Linked DNA regions of Homo sapiens: regions 2 and 3 are each linked to region 1. The links are contacts of gene promoters, found by promoter capture Hi-C in blood cells and fetal thymus (Javierre and others, 2016). All regions are on one chromosome and are shown on one strand. The core of a region is centred on a gene start or on the middle of the fragment in contact, and the rest is flanking DNA. Distances in the headings are between cores, read along the strand shown. Region 1 holds the start of CHSY3 (chondroitin sulfate synthase 3). Region 2 has its middle 460 kb from the start of HINT1. Region 3 has its middle 280 kb from the start of HINT1.

Region 1 (4,355 bases), core at 544-3,043:
TTTATGTGGCTACTGTCTTATCAGCACAAATAAAAAAAAATTTCCATTATAGCGAAAGTTCTATTGAATAGTACTATTCTAGAAATTTTAAAATGCCTTTGACGATTTAAAAATCAGAAGGGGCCTGTTTGACTAGCTTTGTATTCTAACTAAAATTTAACTTTGAGAGAGCCCAGTAATCTGTATTCCCAAGTGTCTCTGGGAAAAACCTAGACATGGAAAAGGAGCTTCATTGTCCAGCAGATGAAACATTTAGTCAGACGTGCTCATGCACAGCCAGGGACCGGTGTGGAAAGAACCATTCCTCCAAAGGCTCCAGGCAGGCCTAGTGTTCCAGGGACGCTGCCAGCACCTCGCTGGATCGAGCCATTATGTCTAATGCCATTCAATACCATCCCTTTGCGTTTGATGTCTAAAACAGAAGACTGAAATTTGAAGAGAAGGAAGTACTTGGGATGCCAAATGCACCCCAGACTATAGCTTTATGCACAACCTTTAGAGAGAAATTTGTTAATGCTCCCTTCTTCAAAAATCATATACCTTCAGGTAATTTCTTCCTAACGTAACTAAGGCACAATGATTTTGGCCAATACAGCTTAACTTTTTTTGAGATTCTGTTGCTGGACAATTTTCCTCCCTCATTGGAGAGGTAAAATTTTCCTGTCTTTGCCTTAGAAAATAAAACGGTTCATAGGCAAGAATAAAAATCATATCCTCCATTTTATTTTTTGATTAAGTTCACTTATTTTGTGGGGGTAAGAATTTCTTTCGTTTGGATCTTCAGGGTATTGGCCCTGTGAATGTGTGCCCATTTCTCCACTATTTGCCAGTCCCACTGAGCCAATCTTCTACCAAGACTGAAAATAGACCATAGTTCTCATTTCTTGAACAGATATCATCAGGAGAGCCGAGGGGGAGACCATTAGGCAGCCCCACATTTTCCAACTCAACAGGTGGAGGACATGGGATTTTTACGTTCTTTGGGGATTGAACCCCCACACACCACCAACTCCCTTAGCCTTTCAGGATAAGTATTTCCAATCCCTCAGAGATTTTCTTAGGAGAGACCCTAACGACAATGGTGCTTCTGTGAAGGACTGAGGAGAGCTGGTGGACGATGCAGGTAGGAGGGAAGTTAGGCTGGGAGGAGAGGTGCTGGGATGGGACGTTTGGTTTCCTGACAAGTGACCGACTAGAGAGAGAAGGCGCGGAGTGGCAGCGGTAAGAACAACGTGGAAAGGACGGAAAACGCGAAGAGTGGCGCCCTGGCGGACCTGGGGCGGGGCAGAGTGGTAAGGGTCACGCCAGGACGTACCCGGCTGTGGGCCGGGGGAGGAGAGCACGGTGGGACAGCAACGAACTTGCTGGGGGCTCCCGGACCCGAGCTCCGCCGATGAGGTCAGCGGAGCCTAGGCGCCGGGAGGAGGCCAGTAGAGCCCCCAGACACGAGTGTCGGGAGGCCAGCGGAGGGGCGGGACGGGACGGGAAATGGGACGAAGAGCAAGAGCTGGGGGAGGAGGGAAGAGGGGGCGTCGGCGCTGCAAGCCGGAGGCGGCCCGACAGGGATCGTTTCCTTCCGGAGAGGAGGCCGGCTCTGGACTGAGGCGCGGACGGGGGGCGTCCAAGGGCGGGTGACGGGGAAATACCGCGGCCCGCGCTTCTCTCCGGCTGGCAGCGGTGCCGCCTGCGGCTCCTCCTCCGGGCCAGCTCGGAGCCCGGCGGCGGGGGGAGCGGGAGGCGGGAGTGAGGGCGGGGGCTCGGGAAGGAGGGAGGAGGGAGGGCCCAGGCGCGCCACTGACAGGGTGGCAGCCTAGGAGCGGACGCGTTGCCGCCGCCGCTGCTCCTCCTCCTCCTCCTGCAGCTCCTCCAGCTGCCGCTGCTGCCGCCGCTGCCGCCACCGCCGCCGCCGGGAGAAGTTTCACTCCCGACCCTTGCTCGGAGCCCCGGCCCAGAGCTGAGCGGGAGCCCGGCAGGCAGCTGCAGCCCGCGGCAGTCGAGGCGTCCGCGGCGCTTCGACCTCCAGCCGGTGTCGGCGCCTAGGCGGCCGGCTGCGGCCGCGGCTGGGGGCGCAAAGGCGGAGGAGGGGCGGGTGTGAGCCGGGGAAACCGCGTGCCGCGCCGCGACAGCCCAGCGAGCGTCCGCGCCCGGGACAGCCGCGATGGCTGTGCGCTCTCGCCGCCCGTGGATGAGCGTGGCATTAGGGCTGGTGCTGGGCTTCACCGCCGCGTCCTGGCTCATCGCCCCCAGGGTGGCGGAGCTGAGCGAGAGGAAGAGACGTGGCTCCAGCCTCTGCTCCTACTACGGTCGCTCTGCTGCTGGCCCCCGCGCCGGCGCTCAGCAGCCGCTCCCCCAGCCCCAGTCCCGACCACGGCAGGAGCAGTCGCCGCCCCCCGCGCGCCAGGATCTCCAGGGGCCACCGCTGCCCGAGGCAGCACCCGGGATCACCAGTTTTCGAAGCAGCCCCTGGCAGCAGCCACCTCCGCTGCAGCAGCGGCGGCGAGGACGCGAGCCTGAGGGCGCGACGGGGCTTCCCGGTGCTCCAGCGGCCGAGGGGGAGCCCGAGGAGGAGGACGGGGGCGCGGCTGGGCAGCGGAGAGACGGCCGGCCGGGGAGTAGCCACAACGGCAGCGGGGACGGGGGCGCTGCCGCCCCGAGCGCCCGACCCCGGGACTTCCTGTACGTGGGGGTGATGACCGCGCAGAAGTACCTGGGCAGCCGCGCGCTGGCCGCGCAGCGGACCTGGGCGCGTTTCATCCCGGGCCGCGTGGAGTTCTTTTCCAGCCAGCAGCCCCCCAACGCCGGCCAGCCCCCGCCACCCCTGCCTGTCATCGCGCTACCGGGTGTGGACGACTCCTATCCTCCCCAGAAAAAGTCCTTCATGATGATCAAGTACATGCACGACCACTACCTGGACAAGTATGAGTGGTTCATGCGCGCCGACGACGATGTCTACATCAAAGGTGACCTCCCTGCGCCGGCTTTCCAGCCTGCCAGTCTCCCCGACTCCTTTCTCTGTAACCGGTCCTAGCCCCTGCCCAGCCCCTCCGCTGCTTCTCTGCCAGCACGTGCTTCGGGCTCCCACAGGCCCTGGCCCGCCCTCCCCACCCCTTGCATCCGCCCACAATTCGTAGCCCGTTCCTCGTCTTCTGCAATCTGGACCCTCCTCACACCTGCCTGGCTTTATTCGCCTTCCTCACTTGCTGTTTTCGGTGCCGCCTCGCGCTTGTCCCTTAGTCTTTACCTCGTCGGAGAGGTTAGAAAAGGAACCTTAGAGCTAAACCAAAGGCCATTCCCACTCTGCCCTCCTCTGAAAGCCCCTGCTGATGGTAGTTTCCCCAATCGGTCCAGAGGGGCGTGGTCTTCAGGAAGGGAAGACGGAGGATGCTAGCTACAACTAGTCTGGAGATCCAGTGTTCTGGCTTTGGATCTTGCTCTTTTGTTTAAACTGGATCTAGCGCACTTTTGGAACTGCTCAGATTGAGGAATCGTCTTCGCTGTCCCGGACCCTTTCCTATGTGTTCCCTTCCCTTTGGCTCAACTCTCCACATACTGGGAGTCCTTGGCCATCCCCACCGTGCCAGCGCGCTGCTCCTTCCAGCCGCTACAGTTCAGCACCAAGCCGTCCCCCATCCCCCCGCCACACCTCAATAAAACCCTGAGAGGATGGGCATGTTGTAAGGAATTGGTGGTGGGGGAAAAGAGGAAAGCACCCGCTAATAAGCCAGACCCCTGGGAACAGCAGACTGTACTAGCACACACTAGTATTGGTTCCTTTCCAGTGCATTTTGTTGGCCGCGGTGATAAGCAGAGGCTGGAAGTCCTTCCCAGAACCACAGGCAGCCACAGCAAGAAAAAACTTTTTTTGTCAGTTTAAAAGAGGCGCGGTCTTTTTCCCGGAATGTGGGCGGCTCTGGACAGAGAATTTCTAAACTCAGCGGATCAAAGTTCTTTAGGTCAGAGAAGTGAATCTTTCCAGTCCAGCCAGTTGCTGAGATGGGGAGCAACGCAAGGGAAGCAGCAGGGTTGTACCGAATGAGGTTTCTCTGTGTTTTCCACATTTCCTTGCTTCCCGGTCAAAGGGGGGCAGCCCTTCCTTATTTTATGCCTTTCTACTCGTAGCCTCATTGCTTCCTCCTGATTCGGATAGTACTTTTCACATAATGCAAGAAAAACGAACAAAAAGCCAAACAATAAACCCAAACTGTTGCATTTTGGCACAAGGAATTAGTGTAATCATAATAACTAGAGATTTCTTGGCTTTGGATTGGAAGGAGGGAAGTCACTCTAGAGCAGGTTGGAATAGAAAATACTGATAATTGGATATAAAAATAAAGAATGGTCTCATTACATTTTTA
Region 2 (4,921 bases), core at 1,134-3,633, 800 kb after region 1:
TACTGGACATATACCCAAAGGATTATAAATCATGCTGCTATAAAGACACATGCACACGTATGTTTATTGTGGTACTATTCACAATAGCAAAGACTTGGAACCAAGCCAAATGTCCAACAATGATAGACTGGATTAAGAAAATGTGGCACATATACACCATGGAATACTATGCAGCCATAAAAAAGGATGAGTTCATGTCCTTTGTAGGGACATGGATGAAGCTGGAAACCATCATTTTCAGCAAACTATCGCAAGGACAAAAAACCAAACACCACATGTTCTCACTCATAGGTGGGAATTGAACAATGAGAACACCTGGACACAGGAAGGGGAACATCACACACCGGTGCCTGTTGTGGGGTGGGGGGAAGGGGGAGGGGTACCATTAGGAGATATACCTAATGTAAATGACGAGTTAACAGGTACAGCACACCAATATGGCATATGTATACATATGTAACAAACCTGCACATTGTGCACATGTACCCTAGAACTTAAAGTATAATAAAAAATAAATAAATAAATAAATAAATAAAAATAAAACCCTTTCTCTGCTCAAACTTTAGCATGTATGAGAATCACTTGGAAAGCTTGTTTAAACACAGATTATTGGGCCCTACCCTGAGTTTCTTATTCAGTATGTCTGGGATAAGCCAATAGTTTACAGTTCCAGTAAGATCCCAGGTGATGCTGATGCTCCTGATCTGAGGACATCATTGGAGATCCACTGTTGTTCCCTCATTCTCTCATTTACCACTTCTGCCTTGTTGTGCCCCAGGCTACTACAAACCAACTATCCTGTGCAAACCAGTTCACAGACAGTCTTCTGTCTTCCAGGAGATTTCTCCCTTGTTAGTTTCATGAATCCATAGTTTCCTTTTGCTTCTATAATTTCTCCAAAGTTTATGTTGAGGCATAGAGCCTGCAATTCGTGTTATTTCACCATCTTGGCAAAACCAGAATCCATACCTCTTTAACTGCCTCCTGCCTCCTTGGTTTAATATTTACCCAAAACCTTGGTAATGAGTCACAGGTTTTTCCATATTAAAATGAAATAATATAGAAAAACCTTGTTAAATTGACTATTCTTGTTCTATTAGGTAACAACATAAAGTACACCAATACTGCGAAGTTGTCAACTAAAATCATGTCCAATAATATTTGCCTCTATTTCACTGAGTTCCCTCTGGAAAACCCATTAAAATAAAAGGCCAGCTTGATGTAGAAGGAAGTGGTAAAAGATTGTGAAAAGAAAGCAGGGAAAAGTTTCTAAAAATCAGGGGTTGTGATCCCAAAGCTATAGTTATATGAATTCTAGACCAAGATTTTTCAAATTGTTCAGTTTTCCTTACTTTGGAAATAAAAGTCTTCAGAATCTTGATTATTCAGCAAGATTTTAATTATATATGTAGAGTTTTTAATCTATTGCCATTTATATAAATAACATGTATAATAACTTGTAATAAAATAAAATAATAGTTTATGGCCGATGACTCATCATAAGGAGGGAAATAAAACATTTTTAAATAAAAGAAAAAAGGAATAATAGAAGAAAGAAAAAAATATTTATTAAGTACACTCTACAGTGAGATTGAGATTTTTTTCAAAGGCAAATTATTCCTCTTTACCTGAATCACAAAAAACAATTATACACTTTTTGTCTGTAAGTGCCTATATTTATACTCTTTGCTTTCAGATGGGGTCCTTTAATTGCCCTAAGCACATCTGCAATAGGATGAAGGCAAACTTGTGGATTTGTACTTAAAATAAGAGAAACTAAAGTAAGAAGTTGTTTTAAACTACGAGAAGAAATAAAGCGTACACTCATATGGTATACTTGCAATTACTGATGCAATTTTCCTCTTCTAACCTCTCTCTTCCTACCCCACTATTCCAACATACTGAGGAAGAGAGCACACTCTGATAAAGCCGTGCCCTAGCCAATGTAAAAGATGTGAAATCAACAATGAGGCTTTTACTCTTCAAATTAGGAATAGGTGGGGATAATTTCACAGCTCCTCAGAGGCAGCTCTCAGGAGAACCACAAACACAGAACTCAGTGCCTGAGCCTTGCTGCCTCCAAAGGAAGCCAAGACCCTGTTCTCCCTGAAGAATAGCTATGAAAGATGAGTGCAAAATCACAGTGCTTTAGACTATTTAACAATTTCCTGGTAGCAGAAAATAATTCATAGGCATCTGTAGAGTAACATGAGGTATAACGATTCAATTGCATTTTGATTATGAAGAAATCTACTATGCTGGAATCTGCAGAAATATGAGTCAGTACGTATTGTTTTTGCAGTATTGTTGGCGCTCATAGTTCCTAAGGGAGAGCATTGTTTAAGCTACTCCTTTGCTCATCATGTAAATTATTTCACCTCAGTAGTTCAAGAAAAATGCTAAATTGCTAATTCCTTGATGCAGTTTCAGTAAAAGTTGAATCGTCCCCCTCTGGTTTTGACTGTGATGAAAGTTTTGTTATATACGTCAGAATTGTTTGTCAAGATGTTTCATTGATCAGGAAATGCCTTTGTCTATCCAAAAAGCCTAATGAAAGAGTCTCACAGTGAGCAGCTCTCCTTTTGACAGCATGAGTTTTTACTAGGTATATGGATGCAATCCTCAGCCACAATAGAAAAAAAGACAACTTTAGGAGTGCAGTGAAGTTTGGAAAGCATAAGGATGCCAGAGGAAATCAATGGTATATGTCACTTGCTTCACAACTTTCTATACTCGCCTTCAAATTACAGGGTTCTGTGTCCTTGGAAAGCAGAATTCTTTGTGGACTCATTTCAGAGTTTTCTCTGAATATGAATGCTCCAGTTCCCTATACTGTCACCAAGAGAGATTGACTAGGATGAACCTTCACCTGTATAGTTTGTAAAAACAACAACAAAAATCTCTTCAATATTAACATATACACCAAATAGTACAATGCCTGCACTTAAGATACTACCATTCATTAATCTACAATGTTCTTAATGCTCATGAACAATTTGGAACACAAATAACCTGCCCATTGAGAGAGCAACTGTATATTTTTTTTTCCCAAGGCAGAACATCTGTGAGTAAGGGGGTTAGAATTGGTCCAGAACCTACTCCTCTGCTCCTTTCTGCTGGATAGTCGAAAAGAAGCTGTCTGAAGAAAACCCAGAGAAAAACAATAACAATAGTGATATTCCCTCTGGGCAACACAATCGCATGTTAGTGGAGGATTTCTGAATACACAGTACCTTAATACAAAAGAATTAGAAGTCTTGTGAGAAATCAGTGGGGAAGATAATTTGTGGGTGGGAACAGAGAGTAGAGAGTTGAATTTAGGAGTCGAGGTTGTGCCAGTGGAATGATTGGGGTTATCATCCCACAAAAACCAATGACATACTTGAGCTAGTTCCTTCCGTTCTCTGAGAATTATGTTCCTTGTCTATGGAATGAGGACTGACAAAATTTTCTTTAAGATTTATTGAAGTTTGAATATGGTATGTAAGGAATCTTCTTTTTAAAAACACAACAAAAGATCACTGCAATCACACAGGTTGCCATTTTCTTTCCTACCTTGGTTTTAGGTTATACAGTTGAGGCAACATTTTCGTTAAGAAATCAGACCTCAGAATATGGCCCACCTGTGTTTGAATACTGGTACTTCCACCTACCAGCTGCGTGATCCAGGGAAAGTTGTCTAACAGGTCTAAGCCTCAGTTTCCCCACCTTAAAAATAGAGAGGGCAAGAACTGGCATTGTTGTGAACATTAAATGTTAATCATGTGGTGACCTGCAAAGTACCATGAACATGTGGATATTCATACAGAACATTCCACAAAATCATTGTTTTTTTATCACTACATTTTGCTCTTAGGAATGCTTTTACTCTTAAAGGGGACCAAAGACATTAGCCCAGTCATTTTTACCTTCGGCTTATGCAACAATCCATCCTTTTAAATCTTTTCAGAAGCCTGTAAAATTACCCATTTCAATTTATGTGATTGTTAGTTATAATTACCGATTGTGTCCCATAACCTTTCTCTCCTACCATTGCTTTAGATCTTCATTTCTATCACCTTCACATTTACATTTAAATAAACATAGAGAATCCTATTGACTCTGCCCATTTTGGTGAAACTAGAGAGATCTTTGCTTTTTCAGGCATTCTCCATTTTAAAAATAACTATTATTCAGCAAGCTTTTAATCACTTATTTTCAGGTTTCCAAGATTCTTCATATGCTGCCTAATTTTTCAAAAATTTGAAAAAGAGAAGAAACATTTCTGTAAAAAATAGTTCTTTCACGTAAAAAGAGTAGAAGAAAAATGTCAGAGATAAGGGGAGGGAAAGAATGAAAAGTCTGTGAGCAAGATGTCTGTCTCGTATGTTTGTGAGTCAGAGGAAGAATTGGGAAAAAAAAAAACCTATGGGGAGAGAGAAGGAAACAGATTGGGAGACTAATTTAAAGCAGAATCAACTAAAAGGAAGTTGAAGATTTGAAAAAATAAGACAGCAGCATCAAGAAGAGAAAGTCTGTTGAAAAGAGAAGCAATAAGAAAAACTTGTAGCAATTCATGTATATGACAAATTCAACCCACGTTTAAATAAAAATGCAAAGATTTCAAAAACACCAAAGAAGGATTTAATGAAAGGTTCTCATCACCCACAAATAATAAAGATTTTTTCCCTAACCTTTATTTTATTTATTTATGTTTTTGGACAAAGTGCATTTACTCTCAAATTTCTAAGCCTTATGTTGCTCTCTTGTACCATTTTCTCATTCATTTTACAATTATTCTTAAGGCCAAATAAGTTTTGACATGCAAATTTATGTTCTGTTCTTAAGTATGTTTCCCTCTTCCATCCCAAGAAGGTAGTTGGACTGCCATTCAAATTATCTATAAAAATTATCTAAAGTAGTACACTGAGAAAATATGCTT
Region 3 (5,043 bases), core at 498-2,997, 980 kb after region 1:
AGGGAGCCAGAAGCACCTAGAAGTTTACCTCTGTACCTCCCTACCTTCCTCCTCTAGCGCAGGACTGGCAGGGAAATATGGAAGCCCATCTCCTCCCCTCAGGTCAAGACAATTCTGAGATGCATCTTCTACTCAGCAATGCCGCTGCAGGAATTCACTACACCCTCCCCAGGACTTTGCCTGAAACTAGCCCCTTACTTGGCTTCTGCCTTGCTCTGTCCTACCTCCCTCACACCCTTAACAGTTTCTCCTAGAAACACTTCCCAGTAAATCACTTGCACAGACAATCCTTGTCTTAGACAATCAGTGAAAGATGATTCTACAGTTTATATTCTTTAGGGCTTTAAGGTTCTGTCCAAACAATACATGCAAAACAAGATAAACAACTCCAAGACTTTGTTATAATGAGCCCTTGATTCTGTAGCCAAAGTCATAAACAGTGAGTTAGGGGCATCTCAAGTCCATAAAGTCACCAGTAATGTCATGAATGATGTCACTAGTGGCCTGAGATTTTTATGATGGAAAGTAATACAATGTTCCAGGGAGACCATGGACTTTGGAGCCAAACAGGCTTGCATGCAGTACTGACACAACAAATTACTAGTTACGTTCTCATTGGAAGCCTTAGATTCCAATTCTATAAAATAGTTAGATTCTGAATCTACAAAATTGCGATGCTGACCTTAAAGAGTTTGTAGCAGTAAATGAGTAAATATTTAACGTATCTAATACATAGTAAACACAAATTAGTATTTCATTTTGCTTTCTAAAGGGAATGATTTTGTCACAAGGAAACCAGAACTTATGGAAACATCTGTTTCCCTACAGTGAAAAGCCTTAAGCTAGAGCCCCAATTAATTATGTCATTAGCCACCAGTTTACATTTGGAAGAGGGTTACATAGCAATTGGGTTTTTTTTTCTGCTTGTTTACAGATAACCTTAAGGTTATCTTGAATTATTGAAGCTTGTTTCATTCATTCATTAATCCACGTTCACTGAGTGGTTATAGCCCAGGCACTGGGACATACAGAGGTAAAATAGACAGACACAATGCCAATAAACAAGCAAACAAGTAAGTAAAATAATTAGAGATGGTGATAAATAGCATGAGGGAAATAAACAGGGTAATGAGATGAAGTAACTGCACAAGGGAGGCTCACGACATTAAACAGCAGTCAGGAAATACCTCTCTAAGAGAGTGATATTTGAGCTGAGGGAAACAGGAGCCAGTGCTGTGAAGATCCAGGAAAGAATCTTCCAGGCAGAGGGAACAGCAGTCTAAGATGGGAGAGACCTTGGCACCAGTAGAAGTAAAGTGATCGGAATTCAGAAGATTATGTTAGAAGATGAAAATAGAGAAATGATCAGGAATAAGACCATACAGTTCCTCATGGCTATATTGAACGGTCTGACTCAATGGAGTACAGCCATGAGAAGAATTTTTGTTTCTTTCCAACCTTTATTCTTCAATGAATTATATCAAGTCTCCTTTGCCTTCCCTTTAAAGACATTTCAGACAGAATGGAAAACTCCATAGTCAATTTCAGTTATAAAACAAACCAGTCTAGTAACATTAAAAACAGTTTAAAACTTAACCCTCAAGTGCAGTTTAATGCTCTAATCTTTCCCTGCTGGGACTGGCCAGCACTTGGAGAGTGACAGTGTCAGCTCTTCCACTTCTCTCCCTCCTCCCCCTCCCTTTTCTGGGTTGCCCCTTCTCCATGGTTTGGAACTTTAGTGAATACAGGAGGAAAGGGGAGAATGCCTCTGACTTCCCTGGTGCTGCTGCTCATGCTCCTTGATGGTTGATGCTTTCTATGTCACAGATGTTCAAGGTCCCACTATCACACATGTAAGAGTATGTGCAGACTCTTCAGGAAGCCCCACAGAGAACACTCAGTTCTTTGATGTAGACAATCTACTCAGAGAGACCTCACCCAATCCACCCTGACTTCCCACCCCTCAGACATATAATCCATGATCTTTTGCTTCCAGCAACATGGCTGAAGCCCGGTTACCTTTCACAGTGCCCAACTAGTCCGTGAGAGAATCGTCCTTTACCTACTAAACACTGGAGCTGTGACTTCCCTAATGCTCAACTCTCTTTCCCCTAGTCTCACATTTTCCACATCCTGATTTCAAACCCACCGCATAAGCAAACATCCAACTTTCAATTCAGTGCCACTCACACCTCCTTCTTCAGACCCTCCCAGTCTCTGTGCTCTGTGAGTAGATCTCTTGGAGTGTCACTCCTTCATTTGGCTTAAATCAAAATAACCTACTCTCTTTTTGCCCAAAAAAAAGAAAGGAGAATCTACAGCACTCTCTCACAGACTGATAACTCAGTTTTCTCAAAGATCCTTTTATTTTCTTTATCTAGATGGATCATAGACAGGTAAAGAGGTATGTCAGGTGTGATAATGAAACTGAAGCTGTCTTTTCTTCCCAGTGCTATGGGGATGTGACTGATGGCACTCTTTGCAATGTGGAACTACAGAGCAGCTTTTTCATTTTGATTGAATACAATACAAAGCTTTTTGCTTTGAATACAATCTATGTGATGTATCTATTATTAATAAATGCTTGGAGATTATCTGCAGAACTTGACAGTGAAATTCAGATATATTAAAGCATAAATGTGTTCATTTATTCATCAGAATGTATTTATTTATTCATTAGTGTGATTTTTATTCTTAGAATGTGAACACATTTTTATCTCCTCTTCTAATTAATCTCTTAATTACTCAAGCCTGACCACTAATGAACAGCTGTGATTGCTAATATACTCTCCAACAAGAGATGGTCGTACGTTTTCCCAACCAATCATCCAAAAATATGTTTTCATCTCTCTCCCCCATTCTGTTAGAAATAATTTCTTCTAATAAATGCAGACACCTGGGAAGAGGTATAATAGGTTCTTTTCTTTTTTTAGTTGAGCTTCTTGTTTTTGTTTATAATGAAGGAGAAAATTAGATAAGCTGGATGCCTTAGTTACATAATGCCCCGCCTTTCTTAATTAACCACAGCTAATGTGCACAAGGTGACAATAAGAAAAATTAAACGAAAGAGGAAAAAAAAGTACTCTCAATGTTTTTAAGATCATAAAAGCAAAAGAGAACAACACATCGGGAAGTCACAGAAACACAATAAACCTTTATCTCTGACAATTAGTGATGATAGATGATTAAACAAAACCATAAATGCATAAATCAGCATGTCGTCCTGTAGCTAATGTGCCATGTGTCATGTTCTCAGTACATGGAGCAAGCCAGTTCTGAGGAATCTGAGGCTTCAATGAGTTCTAAAGAAAGTAAAATTCAGAAATGTTTTGCATGGCATTATTAGCCATAGGATATTGGTACCCAAGTATCCATTCCACATGTCTATGTAAGCACAGATCTAAGCAGTAAAACACAGTAGCCTAAGTTGGACAACGAGTTTGGGCATTCTTCCCTTTCCTTAAGCCCGCAGGTGCAGCAGATCAGGTACATGAAGCAAACACCCTTGTTCTCAGAGGCTCACCCCACACGTAGTCTTTGATACCATTAAAAGTCTTTGAAGTCACTGGGCTGCAGTCACACAAGCTGAAATCACCTTACATCATGTAGCTATATAAGATAGTTCTTCTCACCAAGACCGAAAAGAAACAGATGAAAACTTTTGAAATATAATGCATATTACCTTTCATAGAAAATTTCTATGAAAAATAAACCTCTAAAACAGAAAAACATGAACATTACATGTATCTGGTTTTTCTTCATTTGCTTTAGTGTTTCTTATTCCAAAACATTTTTTAAAACCGTGTGTGTGTGTGTGTGTACAGCTATCCCTCAGTGTCCATGGGGAATTGGTTCCAGGACCTCCTGCAGATACCAAAATCCAAGGATGCTGAAGTTGTTTATATAAAATGGTGTAGTATTTACATATTAACCTATACACGTTCTCCTGTATACTTTAAATCATCTCTGGATTACTTATAATACCTAATACAATGAAAATGCTATGTAAATAGTTGTTATACTGAATTTTTTATTTGTATCACTTTTATTGTTTTGGAGTAGGTTTTTTTTCAGAATACTATTTATCTGAGGTTGATTGAATCCACAGGTGCAGAATCCACAGATACAAAGGGACTTGCATGTGTGTGTGTGTGTGTGTGTGTGTGTAGACAGAGAGAGAAGAATAGATGGACAAAATTACAAACATTAGCCAAATTTTTTGCAGTTTCTTTAGATGCTGAATTTGGAAAATCTGAACGGTCTGTGAATCCATAAATTTCTGTTATTGTAATAATATCAGAACACATCAGCAGTAACATAAGAACCATTGCTTTGATCTCAGTCTCTAACTAGGAGTGTCCATTAACCAGTTTCCTGGGTCATATAAAGAAAATGGCATGAGTTTCATTTTTAGTGACCTAAACATGCCATTCTCTCTTTCTCCTGGCCTTTGCATATGTGGTTCCCTCTGATTTGAATATTTTTTCCACCTCTTGGCCTAACTCCTACTCATCTTTTAGGTGGCAGTTTTAAAAAATCACTGCCTCTATAACTCTTTTGTTGAATGTCATGTACCTTTTGTCATCCAGCTCCACTCTTCTATACTCTCTTATGTAATGCTTGCACTGAGAACCTACAAATCACATTTTCCAGACTCGTTTACCAGCCAGCTCTTTAGATCTGTCAATAGGAGGCAATAGAAGGGATTGGAAGCCAGAAGGAGTGCAGAAGGGCTTTATTCTGTTTTTGCTTTGGTTTGTTTTCTTGGGATTTTTGCCATTGTTGCCTGTATTGCTAGAGCAGTGGCAATTCACCTCAGCATCAACAGTTGGCTCTGGCCTCCAGTGACCTCCAACACTGATGAAATCAAGACCATTACACTCCTTCACAAATACCAGCAGAATTCAGATATGCAAAGTTTTTTTTGTTTTGTTTTGTTTTGTTTTGTTTTTGTTTTTTGTTTTTTTCTTTTGAAACAGAGTCTCGCTCTGTTGCCCAGGCTGGAGTGCGGTGGAGCAATCTTGGCTCACTGCAAGCTCTGCC

The links. The method cuts DNA at HindIII sites, captures the fragments that hold promoters and counts their contacts. A CHiCAGO score of 5 or more calls a contact.
Region 2: a fragment that was not itself captured here is called in contact with the fragment with the promoter of CHSY3 in region 1 in 1 of 17 cell types (endothelial precursors); the score reaches 6.2 in endothelial precursors.
Region 3: a fragment that was not itself captured here is called in contact with the fragment with the promoter of CHSY3 in region 1 in 1 of 17 cell types (M1 macrophages); the score reaches 5.0 in M1 macrophages.

The regions. Positions count from the first base shown.
Region 1 is chr5:129,902,672-129,907,026 of GRCh38, forward strand. CHSY3 (chondroitin sulfate synthase 3) reads left to right here and starts at 1,794. Exons shown (of 3, transcript NM_175856.5): 1 at 1,794-2,960. The coding sequence starts at 2,159. CHSY3-AS1 (CHSY3 antisense RNA 1) reads right to left here and starts at 3,256. Exons shown (of 3, transcript XR_002956248.2): 1 at 3,171-3,256. RefSeq lists a silencer at 1,952-2,161. The HindIII fragment of the contact is 4,826 bases long and covers 1-4,355 here.
Region 2 is chr5:130,704,572-130,709,492 of GRCh38, forward strand. No RefSeq gene overlaps it. Among named protein-coding and RNA genes, the nearest start is that of HINT1, 460 kb to the right of the region's middle. The HindIII fragment of the contact is 3,590 bases long and covers 589-4,178 here.
Region 3 is chr5:130,884,702-130,889,744 of GRCh38, forward strand. No RefSeq gene overlaps it. Among named protein-coding and RNA genes, the nearest start is that of HINT1, 280 kb to the right of the region's middle. The HindIII fragment of the contact is 1,569 bases long and covers 964-2,532 here.